Regions from separate parts of the Homo sapiens genome. Here region 1 is linked to region 2. The links are contacts of gene promoters, found by promoter capture Hi-C in blood cells and fetal thymus (Javierre and others, 2016). All regions are on one chromosome and are shown on one strand. The core of a region is centred on a gene start or on the middle of the fragment in contact, and the rest is flanking DNA. Distances in the headings are between cores, read along the strand shown. Region 1 holds the start of SLC46A1 (solute carrier family 46 member 1). Region 2 holds the start of NOS2 (nitric oxide synthase 2).

Region 1 (6,902 bases), core at 36-2,535, 600 kb after region 2:
GCCACATAGAGCTGGACAATGGATCGGTGGTGACGGAACGTGAAGAGCCGGGTGGACTTTGGCTCCTTTAAGGTCTCACCAAAGCAGAAAGCTGCATAGAGAGTCATGGCTATCAGCAAGGCCAAGGCCAGCCAGAAGGGGTTGGCATAACCCTGGGCCCGGAGCCAGTGGCCCCCGAGGAGGCTTGCCAGCATCCCAGCCACCCCGATGCTGGCTTCCAGCAGGGCCATCCGGAAGGTGCGGCTGCGACTGGAGCTGACATCTGCCACGGACGCAAAGCTAGCAGCCAGAAGGCCACCGAAGTCGCCGAGGAGGGCACAAAGGATGCGACCCAGCACGAAGTAGCCGACGTGGAGCTGCAGCTGCACCACAAAAACGGACACTAGGGCCTGGAGCAGCAGGCCCAGCGAGGCCAGCACTAGCAGCGGGCGGCGGCCCACACTGTCGCTCCAAGCTCCCAGCAGGGTGGACGAGAAGAGCCCCACCAGGAAGCCGCCCACGTTCATGTAGAGGGTCCAGTGGGAGGTAAGGGTCTCCACTTCCTGTAGGGGCACAATGACCAGGGTGCGGTTCCTCACTCTGGGTTCCACAATCCCCAAATCCTCGCCATCCCGGGAGCTACAGGGATGAGGACTTCCTTTGGAGCCCTAAACCTCAGAGAATCTTAGCACAGCTTTCAAAATCTGCCAGTGGAGAGGGGGAAGGACATGGACCAAGGCCCCATTCCCTTTCCTTTCCCCCCCCTTTTGTTAACCTGCAAGGCCAGACTTTAGCTCAGCTTTTCGCATCCCACCCGCTGAGGTTCTCGGTCAGGCCCCTTTGCTCTGGTCCCGCCCACCATCCAAAATGCACCCTCCCTCCAGTTACCCGCCACTACCATTACGCAGGCCCCGCCCCTCCGCTGCCCCCACGCTCCAGACCAGGGCCCTCCACCTGCCAGGCTCCTCGCCGCCCCGCTACCTGCATGGTGGGGTCCGCGCTGCGGTTGCTGCAGCCCCCCCTTTGGCGGGTGCCATTGTAGCCGAGGTCGGCGCTGAAGCGGTGCCACAGATACTGCGTGGTGAGCGGGCCCTGCAGGACCAAGGCAAAGTTGGCCAGGAAGACCAGCGGCTCTACCGGGCCCCGGCACAGCACGGCAGCCGCAGGGCGGGCGCGGGGCTTTTCCGGGGGGCTCGCGCTCCCCTCCATGTGCGTGCGCGGCGGAGCTGTCGCCAGGCGGGCGGCGGGGCGCGCGAGCGACTCGCTGCCTGGGACCAGCGACGCGTGGCGTGGGGCTTGCGCTGTCTGCGCCTGCGCCCGGCGTCCCTCCTTAAATGTCCGGCGGGGAGGGGCCTGTGACCTGAGGCCACCGGACTCTCGCCGCGGGTGCACCTGGCTGGGCGTGGGCCAGCGAGGGGCCCGGCACCCCCAGCCCGCGGGATGACCTCACCTGTAAAGTGTGCGTAGACACCGCCCTGCAGCCCTCCCTCCCGGCCCAGACACACCACAGATAACAAGAATATCAACAATTAACATGTATTGACCACTTACTATGTGCTGGGCACGGTATTAAACCCTTTTTGTGCGTTGGTCTCCCGATAACTCTACAGGCTAGCCAATATTAACCATCGCTATCTACCGCTGAGGAAACGAGGTCATCGGGTACTCAAGGCAGAGCTGGAAGAGCACATGACTCCTGATGCTGCTGATGTTCTGCGCTGTAACAGAGAGGCAGCTGGAGAGGATCGGAGTGGGCTGAGCCCAGCTGCCTGGGTTGGAGCACCTAGGCTCTGCCACTACCTTCGGCATGCCACTTACCACCCTGAGCCTCTGTTTTTTCATCTGTAAAATGGAGTTGCTAACAAAACATGTCTCAAAAAGTTGTGGAAAAGCAGTGTCTGGTATATTCAAAGTGCTATTATTGCTATTAACAGGCTGTCACGTCTGGGAGTGGTGGCTCACACCTGTAATCCCAGCACTTTTGGAGGCTGAGGCGCATGGATCGCTTGAACCCAGGAGTTCGAGACCAATCTGGGCAACATGGTAAAACCCTGTCTCTACAAAAAATACACAAAAATTAGCCAGGCGTAGTAGCAGATACCTGTAGTCCCAGGTACTCGGGTGGCTGAGGTGGGAGGATCAATTGAGCCCAGGAGGCAGAGGTTGCAGTGGGCTGAGATCGCACCACTGCACTCCAGCCTGGGTGACAGAGCAAGACCCTGTCTCAAAAAATATAAAATAAAAATAAAATAAAAAACAAGCTGTCACTTGCTCCACTCCTGCCCTAGGATCTTTTCCTGGGAAACTAGTCTTGTTTCTGGGGTCAGGCAGGGCCTGGCTCTGCAGTTCCCTTAGAGAAGATGGGGGAGGGCCTGGGAGGTCCTTGGGTGTGAACCTATGCTCCTGGGTGGCTCCCATTATAGGAATTAGGCCAGAAGGCAGTCACCTGCTCTGCTGCTGAGGAGGTCAGACCCTGTCTGGGCCTCTGTTTTATTGCCTGTAAAAAGGAACAGCATTACCTTCCTTACTCCCCTATCTTTCATTCATTCAGCTCATTTACTGAGTGCCCCTTACGTGCCAGGCACTGTGCTGGGGGACTCCGGGACCACAACAGGAAAGGAAATAGACAAAGCCCTCACCAGGCCCGTTAGTTTCTAGAATGGTGGGAGAGGAAAAATAGTCAAAGAATCCTACTAATTGATACAAAATTCCAACCGTGGAAAATAGTTTTGAACTCCAAGGGTGCTAATTCAGGGGCTGGAGGTAGGGGGAGCAGAATCAGGAAAGGCCACCTTCCCTGAGAACAGAGCAGCTGAGTGGGTTTCTGGAGGCAGGTCCTGACAGGCCTGATTCTTGGGAGGATGGATGGCTCCAATTCTGGCCACTGTGACTGTGCCTGGGCCTGTTGGAGCTTGTTAGCTACCCCACCTCCCCTGAGCCAGGAGTCCGAGACTCAGGATGGGTAGGTGCTGGCTAGATACTAGTGAACTGAATAACCTCCCCCTGCAAGCTGCCCCCACCTGTGGTCCCCTAGAGAGAGGAAATTCCACATTAAACATTCAAGCCTCTGGATTGGCTCCACTCTCCTCCCTCCCCTTCCAACTCCTCCCTACCACTTACACAAAAGCTTGGCCCAGTTAGGTCAGCTGCAGTGAGGGAGGGGTACTTGGCTAAATCCTTGGAATTATTTCTTAGATAAAGAACTAAGGCTAGGAGAGGCCAAGGTCCCTCATCAGGAATGGGACAGGGTGTGGCTCATCCCAGAGCCAGAGCCTGCAGTACCCACTAGGGTAGAGGTCTTTTCTAACTCCTTGAAAACAGCTGCAATCAGGTCACTGGCCTGCTCAAAACCATCCTGGGCTTTCCATTTCGCTCAGTGAGAGCCAAGTCCTTATGAGAGCCCTAAGGCCACCTACCTCTTCTCTGTCCCTCTCCCCTGCTTTGTCCCCCTCAATCCTTGTGCTCAAGCCATGCTGGCCTCCTGCTTTAGGGCCTTTACACTTGCGGTAACTACTACCTAGAATGCTCTTCTGGATATCTGCCTGGCCGGCTCCCTCACTTCCTTCAAGTCTCCACTAAAATGTCACCTGACCCTCCTATATAAGCAACTTCCCTCCTTCCTTGCTTCCTGGCACTCCCTAATCCTTTACCCTGTTTCATTTTTTTCCATAGTGTTTATCACCATCTGAATTATAACTTTCTGGTTTCTTTGTTGTCCATCTCCCTTTACTAGAGGTCATGATGGCAGGGACTTTGTTTTTTCATCACTACCATATCCCCAGCATCTAGAATAGTGCCTGGCGTGTGGTAGATGCTCAAAAGACGATCGCTGAATGAACTCTCAGTCTCAAGGAGAGGAGATTCCGCAGCTGGAGTCCCAGAGCATGTGGAGAGGGTTGCCAATGTTGAGCTGCACTGTGGAGTCCAGAGCCCAAGAATCTCCACCTAGAAGGAAGCTGAGAAATCACATCTCCACCCATCCAACCATTTAAAAGACAGGGAAACTGAGGTCCAGAGGGAAAGGTGACTTACCCAGAGAGAGCTAAAAAGTCCTGCCTGTCAAATTTCTACAGGAAAGGAGAAGCTATTGCAAAGGAAAAGATCTGTAGACTTATTTCCATCAGAACATAAAGCCTTAATTCAAAGGCAAATGACAAACAAAGTCATTTGTTTGTCATTAAAAGAAAGAAAAATCTTTCTTTTAAAATATGGCCGGGCGCAGTGACTCATGCCTGTAATCCCAGTACTTTGGGAGGCCGAGGCGGGTGGATCACCTGAGGTCAGGAGTTCAAGACCAGCCTCAACATGGAGAAACCCCATCTCTACTAAAAATACAAAATTAGCCGGGCGTGGTGGTACATGCCTGTAATCCCAGCTACTCGGGAGGCTAAGGCAGGAGAATTGCTTGAACCCGGGAGGTGGAGGTTACGGTGAGCCGAGATCATGCCATTGCACTCCAGCTTGGGCAACAAGAGCGAAACTCCATCTCAAAAAAATAAAATAAAATAAAATAAAATATGACAAAGGGTTACTATTTTAACTATATGTGATAATAACCTGAAGATCCCTCCCTCAGTAAACAGATAAAAACCAAGCACTGAGAGGTTGTAACACAGAACATGCATGTGAGACACACAAATGAGCTCTTCTCCAGCTTCTGAATAGTGAGAAAAACACTGTGCCTTTGATCTTGTTCTTTGCAGCCAACACATTAGCAATGATTTTGTTTAAAATGAGAATGCTCAAAGCTGGTAAGGCTACAGTGAAACAAATACTGCTGAAGGAGTGTAAATACACCCTTTCAGGAAAAAATTTGGTAGCCTTTAATCAAGACCCTTGAAGCCTCTAATTCTACATGTAGGTCTCTATCTAAAGGAAATAGTCTCAAGTACAGAAAAAAGCCTTATGTGCTAAGATATTCTCCCATAACATTATATTGACAAGAGTAAAAAAAAAAAAAAAAAGATAAACAACCTATGTGTCCAACAGTAGCGAAATGGCTGAGTAAATTATAGTCTATCCACTCCATGAATATGAGTCATTAAAATGATATGTTCAAAGAGATTATAATAATATGGAAAACTGCTTACATAATAATTTGTATGTAGAAAAAACAGAGAGCTTGTTTATGTGGTATGGTCATAGGCATAGAAAAGAATTGCACTGAGTAAAGACTGGAAACCATGGCACCAATATATTAACAGAAGTCCTCTCTGCGTGGTAGTAGGGTTAGGTAAGATTCTCTTTTCTTCTATTTAAAATGTTTTCAACCCTTCTGATATAAACAGATATAAACATATGTTTTAATCATGGAAAACATAAACATTTTAAAAATCTGATGATACTCCTCTCCTTCAAATGTATTCTGGCTCAATTGCCAAATATCAGCTTCATGCTCCTTGATGTTCTGGAGACATCACTAGGAGCTGACTTTTATTGAAGCAGGCAGCACCATACTGAGGGCATTACATACATTATCTTACTGAATCCTGACTACAGCCTTATGAGATAGGTATTACAATTTTTTTTTCTTTGAGATGGAGTTTCACTCTTGTTGCCCAGTCTGGAGTGCAATGGCGTGATCTCGGCTCACTGCAATCTCTGCCTCCCAGGTTCAAGCGATTCTCCTGCCTTGGCTTCCCAAGTAGCTGGGATTACAGGCATGTGCCGGGACACCTGGCTAATTTTGTATTTTTAGTAGAGACAGGGTTTCACCATGTTGGTCACGCTGGTGTCAAACTGCTGACCTCAAGTGATCCGCCCACCTCGGCCTCCCAAAGTGCTGGGATTACAGGTGTGAGCTACCGCGCCCGGCCAGGTATTATTATTTTTACAGATGATGTAACTACAGCATAGAGGGATGAAGGGAAATGGTTTTTCTCACTCTGGGTACAGGTTTTCTTTTCCTTACACCTACCTGTTCTAGTGCTTTCTGTTATTCTAAGCCTTAGTATATGTTAGTCTCTTTGCCAGTAATACCCTTCCTACTTTGCTTGGCCTATTCAGCTCCTTTTCATCCTTCAAAACCCACCTCTGTGTCTCACTTCTAGGCGGAATTAGTCATTGGCTAATATGTACTTCCACAATACTGGGTTCATACATTTAACCCTGGTTTTAAACTTAACCTGGTTATAAATATGTGTTCCCAGGTTTGTCTCCTCTTAACCCCTACCTATGTCCTGCCTCCAGATTTGAGGGCAGAGAAAATTTTTTTCACCTCTGTATTCCCTATCCCTGGGCTTGACATGCAATAAGATAAAATGTTAAATAACTTTGATGACATGCATCAACTCCAGTCAATTGATTGAATCTGTCTGGATTGCTACATTGAGATGGGCTATTTTTCCAGCTTTGTGGGAAGGAGTCCTGCGATTCATTCTTGATGTCTGCCATGGGCTTGGGAATGGTAAGTACTGGCACTAAAAACTGTGTTGTCCAACCCCAGGATATGTACTCAGTAAATTTTGAGAGGCTTTGGGGAAGTGCCTGGAAGTCATAAGGGTTTCTCTTTGCTTCCAGTTGGATAATGCCTACGAGAGGCTGTCTATACAACCACTGTGACAGAGAAGATTGCAACAGGGATTCTTCATCCAAACAGCAGTCTTATCACAGCCTCCACCCAAAACCTATGCCTCCTTTTTGCAAGAGGCCACTTACAGCTTCCAAAGAGCTCTTCATGATTTTAGACACTGAGAGGAAGGAAGGAGACAGCATGAGAGAAAAGCTATTTTCCTTTTTGAGATGTTGCTTCTCACATAGCAACCCTAAAAGTCAAAGCAGCATCCTTGTCACAACTAAGGGTGTTCCCAGCACTGAGTAGAAGCTGCAACTATGCCCCCATCGCTGTGAGACTTTGACCAAGTCCCTTTCTGGCTTCAATTTTCTCATCAATGAAATAATTTCTGGGCCTCTATTTCCTTGTC
Region 2 (7,038 bases), core at 2,044-4,543:
TCAAATGACCAAACCTCATGTCGGCATTTTTTTACCTAGACTTTCCAACACCTTCTCTCTGTAGGCAGAAAATTCCCACAATTTTCTGAGCCTTCTCAAAGAGGAAGAAACAAAACCCTCTCAAAACAGCCGCTTCCCCAGAAATGAAGGCAACTCACCTTGCAGCTGGCTGCACTGCCTCCCCGGGGTAAGGACAGTCAAACCAGGAAGAGACCTGTGCCTTGAGAACTTCGGGACTGTCTAGAACTGCCCAGTCCCCTCATCAAAGGTGGCCGAGAGATTTTAAAGCAGGAATGAGGCTGAGTTCTCTGCGGCCGGAGCCTCAGTTTTCGACTCGCTACAAAGTTATGAACACACTGGCAGCCAAGAAGTATTTATACTCACCCCATGCCATCCAGAGAGTTGTTTTTGCATAAAGGTCTCTTTTTTTTTTTTTTTTTTTTGGTTTCCAAAGGGAGTGTCCCCAGCTTGTGTACAGTTAGCTAATTTATGACTGTGACTGCCAGGGCCTGTGGGTGACCTGATCTTGCTGTTACATCACTCTGTGTGGTGCCTCTTCACCCAACCCACCTCTTTCTGGTCCCAAGTCCAAGGTGGCAGTTCATCAGCAGGGTGGCTGCTAAGATAGAGGCACCACGGAGCCAGGTTTTATTTGGCCAAGCCACATGGCCTCACTTTCAGCATCTGGGAGATTTTTTCCTCAGCAGGGAGCTCTCTGGTTAATCCCTGTCCATCCTCTCACTTTTCCAGCTTGTGACAGGAGTCCAGGAAGCTGGGGGAATATTGACAGTATGGAACACACTGGAAAATGCCCAGGTTCCAGAAGGCCAGTGATATTAGATGATGCCATTATTCCAGACAGGCCTCTGAACTAGTCACTTGAGGTTTTTGGAAGGGAAAGGAAGGAAGGCTATTGGCACAGAGAGGCCTCTGAGATGTTGGTCTTACTAACACCTCATCCTTTAGCACTAGGTAAGCTTTGGTGGAATGGCAGGTAGGATTAAATTCCTTCCCTTATAATGGAAATGATCACTTCTTACATGAAAAAGTGGTAATTTCTTATAATTTCATTTCATTTATTTTATTTATTTATTTATTTTTGAGATGGAGTCTCATTCTGTCACCAAGACTGGAGCGGAGTGGCACGATCTCTGCTCATTGCAACTTCTGCCTCCCAGGCTCAAGCGATCCTCCCACCTCAGCCTCCTGAGTAGCTGGGACTACAGGCATGCACCACCACACCCAGCTAATATTTTTGTGTTTTTGGTAGAGACTGGGTTTCACCATGTTGTCCATGCTGGTCTCGAACTCTGAAGCTCAAGTGATCTGCCCACTTCAGCCTCTCAAAGTGCTAGGATTACAAGGGTTAGCCACCATGCCCGGCCTATAATTTCATTCCTTATAATGCCTGAAATACAGTATTCCCATACATATGCATTTTTCCATCATAAAAGTAAAATAACAACTACATTAGGGAGAAGTTGAGAAGCAAAGGGAAAAAAAGTCACCCTTGATCTCACCGTCCCAACACTTTGCTACCACTGTCCACTCATTTCCTTCTTGTCTTTCCCAAGTTAAATTCAGCATAATATATTAACTTTGTCAAAGATAAACTAAGAGCCACAAAAAAGACATGGATATCAGAGCTCAAGGATCTTTGTTGAGTGAATGTGTGGATGAATGAATGAAAAATAGGAGTAAACTGGAATGAGTTTTAACATATCAAAGCCATCTTCCCTTCAGGCTTCAGCTCAATGCTGCGGCTCAATGCTGCGGCTTAGAGCTCTGGCTTATGGAGCATCTGCCACGAAGAGCAATGCATTTTAGAAAGTGACAAGATGGCCGGGCGTGGTGGTTCATGCCGGTTCAGTTCAGGTAAACAGCACTCAGGGAAAGAGTCAGAATCCTGGCCTTAGGGAGTGCAAGGCCTAGAAAAATAAATGGATAATTATAGTACAGAGTGATATCTGTAGTGATGGAGGGATGGTATGGTGCTGATGTAGCTGGTTCTGCCTTGTTCAAGGAAAGTTTACAAGGGAGAGGACACCAGGGCAGGGTTTTGAGGGATGATTAGGAGTTTGCTACACTCTATTCCCTGTAGCTGCTTTCACATATTCTGGCTATACCTGCAGCAAACACATGTATTAACACATTTAATGCCCCCACCCAAGAGCCTCTGAGGGGGATACTACTATTTGCTATTCATGGAATCCTCAAGAATCCCATCTACTTGGCCTCAAAGCACTTCGTTGATTTTCCTTCAGAAAATGCAGTTATTCAGTTATGTGATCTGTCAAACATGTCACCTCAGGTGCCCCTCTAACACAGCGTCTGCTTGGTGTGGCATTCTTGACCTGTGGCAGGGTTTGAGTCCAAGCACCAGGCTTGAGGACACATTTGGAATTAGCCAGCTGGGAAGGAAATATAATTTCTCCTCAATCATCTTAAGTTATTTGTTGGGAAAGACACTGTAACAAAAGACAGATTAATAATAGAGAAAAAAAAGCAAGTTTGTTAATGTCTGTGATGCACACCACGCAGGAGAAGCCTCAGTGAAAGTAACTCAATGCTGCGGCTTAGAACTCTGGCTTATGGAGCATCTGCCATGAAGAGCAATGCATTTTAGAAAGTGACAAGATGGCTGGGCACGGTGGTTCATGCCTGGAATCCCAGCAATTTGGGAGGCTGAGGTGGGCAGATTGCTTGAGGCCAGGAGTTCGAGACCAGCCTGGGCAACATAGTGAGATCCAATCTCTACAGAAAAATTGAAAATAAATTAGCTGGGTATGGTGGCATGCCCAGCTACTGTAGTCCTAGCTACTCAGGAGGATCAGGTGGGAGGATCAATTGAGTCTGGGAGTTAGAGGCTGCAGAGAGCTATGGTCGCGCCACTGCACCCTAGCCTGTCTCAGAAAAAAAAGGAAAAAAAAGAGGGAAAGGAGGAAAGGAAAGGAAAGGAAAGGAAAGGAAAGGAAAGGAAAGGAAAGGAAAGGAAAGGAAAGGAAAAGAAAGGAAAGGAAAGAGAGAAAGAAAGAAAGAAGAGAAAGGTGACAAGACGAATGCAGTTGTAGGCTTCCAGGGGTGGCAAGCTGTGAGAAGGTAAACATGTGGAAGTGAGCTAAGGAGTAGGATAGCAAGGTTTGTTTGTATTTGTAGATGGCTCTGGTGCCATCTCTGAGCTGATAAAAGTTATCTTCTCATCTTGATGCTGGGAAAGCATCTTTCTCCAAGGAATGTTTATGGCTTGCTGCAGGCAGGACAGGGCAGTTCAGATAGCCCTCTCTCTAGCTGCTCTTTCTCAAATGCCTTCAGCTGGAGATAATCAGGATGCCATATCGGCATATCTGGGCGTGGCATGTTCTGGTTTCCTTTAGCCTGAAAGGTCCCAGGTTCGAGGCACAGCTTCACTGCTGACCTACCATGTGATCTTGGAAAAGCCACTTCTCTCTGGGCCTGACTTTTCTCGTGACAAAAGGTGATAAAAATAAAAGTAAATAAACGAGATACAAGAAAATGCTTTGAGCCATTGAGCAAAAAGTCAGCCAAGTAAGAATTTATTATCCTTGCTGGGAGTCAGAGAGTAACAATTTCCCTTTTGACAAAGAGCAAGTGGATGCCAGGACTTGCCTTCTGAAGTATCCTTCCTCAGACAGGTCCCCGTCCCACCACAAACACCTGCTTTTAAATTCCCGGTCCTCTCTCTCCCTTTGTAACATTAAATTCATGTATGTATTTTTAATTTTTAATTGGAATAAATTTCACATAACATAAAATTACCAATTAACTATTTTAAAGTGTAAAATGCAATGGTTTTTAGAATATTCACAATGTTGTATAACCATGACCACTATCCCAATCCTCTCTTAACCGGCAAATAGGAAGAGGAGGAGAGTAAAAATAGTGATAATGATTGTGATGATACACAGAGGTTAGGAGACTCACCAAGGTCACACAGCAAACAGCCTTCAAGCCGGGACAAACAGTGAGCTTCTGGTACCCTCCCCAGAGCGCCTGTCTGCAGGGTCCAGGGCTGGCCCCCTCCTGGAGGTTGGCAAGTCTCCTACGGCTTCCTGGGCCTGCACGGCTGCCTTCTTCTTGGCCCTGCCCACCCAGCAGGCCGCATTCCTGGCCTCTTCTGATGATGGATGCAGCAGGTGAATTCTGCTGGGGAGAAATCAAAGAGCACCTTGAAGGGCAGGCGGGGGACAGGTGGGCCCCCCGGAGGGTGGCGATAGAGGTTCCGAGGCTGCTGTGGAGAAATGCCCTCCTCCCTGCCTTCCCAGGCTGTCCTAGGCACCATGCTGACAGCAATCAGCACGGGAATGTCTTGGGCTCATTATCCTGGAATTGATTTTCCACTGGATTGATTTGATCTGTTTCTATGCCAGGCTGTGAAGATGGTTCAGATCCAGTTAGCCCTCGGAAGTTAGCAACTTTGAAGGCTTTTCTACAAAAACAATTGATCAGAGCTAACGTTTACTGAGCAAGGCACTTAAACATACCAAGCATTTAATCCACACAACAGTCCTATGGGGTGGGAATGATCACTAGCCCCATTTTATAGATGGGGAAATTGAGGCTAAGCAAAGCCAAATGACTTGTCCAAGACCACACAGTCAGGTGGTGGCAGGGCTACAACCCTGGAGTCCCAGCTTGCACTTGCTCTGGTGCTTGCTCCATAAATACAGCCAGGCCCTGGGCTTTCCATTTATTATCTCAGTTAATCCTCCAACAACGTTGTGTGGCAGGTACTATTATAATACTATCCCCAATTCACCAATAAGGAAACCGAGACACAGAAAGTTTGAGCGACCAGCTCAATGTCACTCAGTTTGTAAGTGGCAAAGCTGAGGACTGACCCAGGTCTGAGACCTTGACTGGACCCCACTTGTGCGCCCACTGTGTGCTTACCCATTTTGCTACAGGTGAGTACACCCAGGGGCAAGGAGAGGTGACAATGAGAGAGTGGGAAACTGAGATCAAGGTAGGAGCTGAGGATTACCTGGGGTTGAATGTTCTCCCCTCCATGTCAGTGTCTGGTGCCAGCTCTGTGCAAGGCCATGGAAGGAGGAGACGGAGTTCCTACTGTGTGCCCCGCCTCACAGAAAGTGATAAAAATTTTATTTTAGAAATATATTTAAGGTTTAAAGAGAGCCAGTTTAAGGTAAAATGTTTAAGCAAATAACAGTATAGGTGCATGCAGATGTGACACAAATGATAAAGGTGGGACGTGAAGGAAACACAGGGGCGTGGCTCTTACTCTCTATTTGTGTGTGTGCATGTCCCGTGGCGAGTCACGTGTCCTGTGGGGCCTTCACTCCACTCAGCTGTCAAAGGAAGGCATTGAGAAGAGGCATTCCTGGGACCCTCCCGGTTCTGAGGCCCTAACAAGCTCAAGTCCCCAGACCGTGAGCCCTATGTCATTTGTCAAGTGACCACTGGAGGGCGTGAGTCACACAAATTCCAGCAGCTCCGAAGCTGAGGTCTTCCCCGGTTTCCACCACCTTGCCTGACTCGGAGATGACGGAAGTGAAGTGAAGGGATTTTTACTGGAAACGCCCGGTGGTCACTCCAGGATGGACAGGCCCAGGGTGGACCAGGAAGGTGGACAAGCTTTGCTGAGTCCCTGGAGTGTGACTCAAGCTGGCTGGTGCAGGCCTGGCACTTTGCTGCTGTTTCTTTTAAAAGCCTCGTTTCTTGTCAAGCCTCCCCAGAACACCCTCCCTTCCCTGCCCTCCCGTTTTGCTTCCTGGGTGCCCGTCCTTCTAGGCGGAGAAACAACAAACAGAGTGGCACCTGGGGTAGTCCCAGGGTGTGATGGTTCAAGGGGCAAGATTCAGGGGCAAGTAGTGTATCTGGGAAGTGCAGGGGACATCAGGAGGGGAATGAGGAAGTGAGACAGAGAAAGGGAGGCAGCTGGTAAAAGTACTATAGGGCAGCTTTCACGATTTGCAACCAGACTCAGCCCCACCAGGGAACTTGAAAAATGGTGCAGAAAACAGGGCTTCAAATGATCCCATCCAAGGGGCCAGGGGCTGGGCTACTGACCCAGCAGTTCCAGAGCATCACTCATTGAGGCTGCTCCCAGGGAGGTTAAATTCCCAAGGCCTGCTGTGGGCAGAGCAGCCTTCCTTGGTTCTGGGAAAGCCCTCTAGAATTCACAAAGTGCACTGGAATGAGACGAAGACAGACGTCACTGCTACAGGGGGTTTAGAATTGGGTCAAATGGAGGAAGAGAGGTACCTCCTCCCCAGGTACAGCCTCTGAGGGTGCTGGATGCTGATCCAAGAAGTTCTAAATGCCAAGAGCTTCAGCTAAGCCCACCCTCTTGTATCCTTCCCTAAGAAGCGCTGCATCTTTGGTTAGGCCACATAAGCCCTCCGGGCCTCCCTTTCCTCAGTTAAGGGTCTCTGAGGCCTTTCCAGCTGTGGTATCTGGGCTTTCTGAGTCTCCCCACCTCATACATATCTGGTCTTTGATGCTCTTGGAAAAGTTATCTTCCCCACCAGAGTGCCCCTGAAAGGCAGAATGTAGCAACGACTGGCAACTTCTGCAGAGCCTGACCACTGTGTGCACAGAGATGTCTGGAGCATCGCTCTCTACGAGAGCCAGAAACAACCCAAGTGATCAGCATAGAGAAAGGCACACCAGGCCAGCTTTATAGTGTACCATTACGTGGCCAAAAAAAAAGTGTATTAAGAATTTTTTGGCCAGGTGTGGTAGCTCATGCCTGTAAATTCTAGCATTTTGGGAGGCTAAGATGGGAGGATTGCTTGAGCCCAGGAGTTTGAGACCAGCCTTGCCAACATGGCAAAACCCTGTCTGTACAAAAAATACAAAAATTACAAAAATTAGCCAAGTGTGGTGGTGAACACCTGCAGTCCCAGCTACTCGAGAGGCTGGGGTGGGAGGATCGCTTGAGACCAGGAGGTCGATGCTGCAGTGAGCTGTGATTGTACCATTGCACCCCAGCCTGGGCAACAAAGTGAGACCCTGTTTCAAAAAAAAGGATTTATTTAGCTGGGCATCGTGACAAGC

The links. The method cuts DNA at HindIII sites, captures the fragments that hold promoters and counts their contacts. A CHiCAGO score of 5 or more calls a contact.
Region 1: the fragment with the promoter of SLC46A1 here is called in contact with a fragment that was not itself captured in region 2 in 1 of 17 cell types (M2 macrophages); the score reaches 5.8 in M2 macrophages.

What each region holds. Positions count from the first base shown.
Region 1 is chr17:28,404,927-28,411,828 of GRCh38, forward strand. It overlaps SLC46A1 (solute carrier family 46 member 1), which reads right to left and starts at 1,286. Exons shown (of 5, transcript NM_080669.6): 1 at 961-1,286; 2 at 1-542. The coding sequence starts at 1,188. It overlaps LOC124903964 (a long non-coding RNA gene), which reads left to right and starts at 5,776. Exons shown (of 2, transcript XR_007065688.1): 1 at 5,776-6,385; 2 at 6,499-6,902. RefSeq lists enhancers at 1-300, 3,441-4,281 and silencers at 768-927, 1,128-1,467. The HindIII fragment of the contact is 6,961 bases long and covers 1-3,104 here.
Region 2 is chr17:27,800,181-27,807,218 of GRCh38, forward strand. NOS2 (nitric oxide synthase 2) reads right to left here and starts at 349. Exons shown (of 27, transcript NM_000625.4): 1 at 159-349. RefSeq lists promoters at 182-7,038, 262-1,379, 262-554, 313-7,038, enhancers at 523-551, 5,283-5,577, 5,305-6,352, 5,544-5,564, 5,888-5,947 and 2 more and cis regulatory regions at 864-886, 2,913-3,048, 3,707-3,846. The HindIII fragment of the contact is 4,636 bases long and covers 976-5,611 here.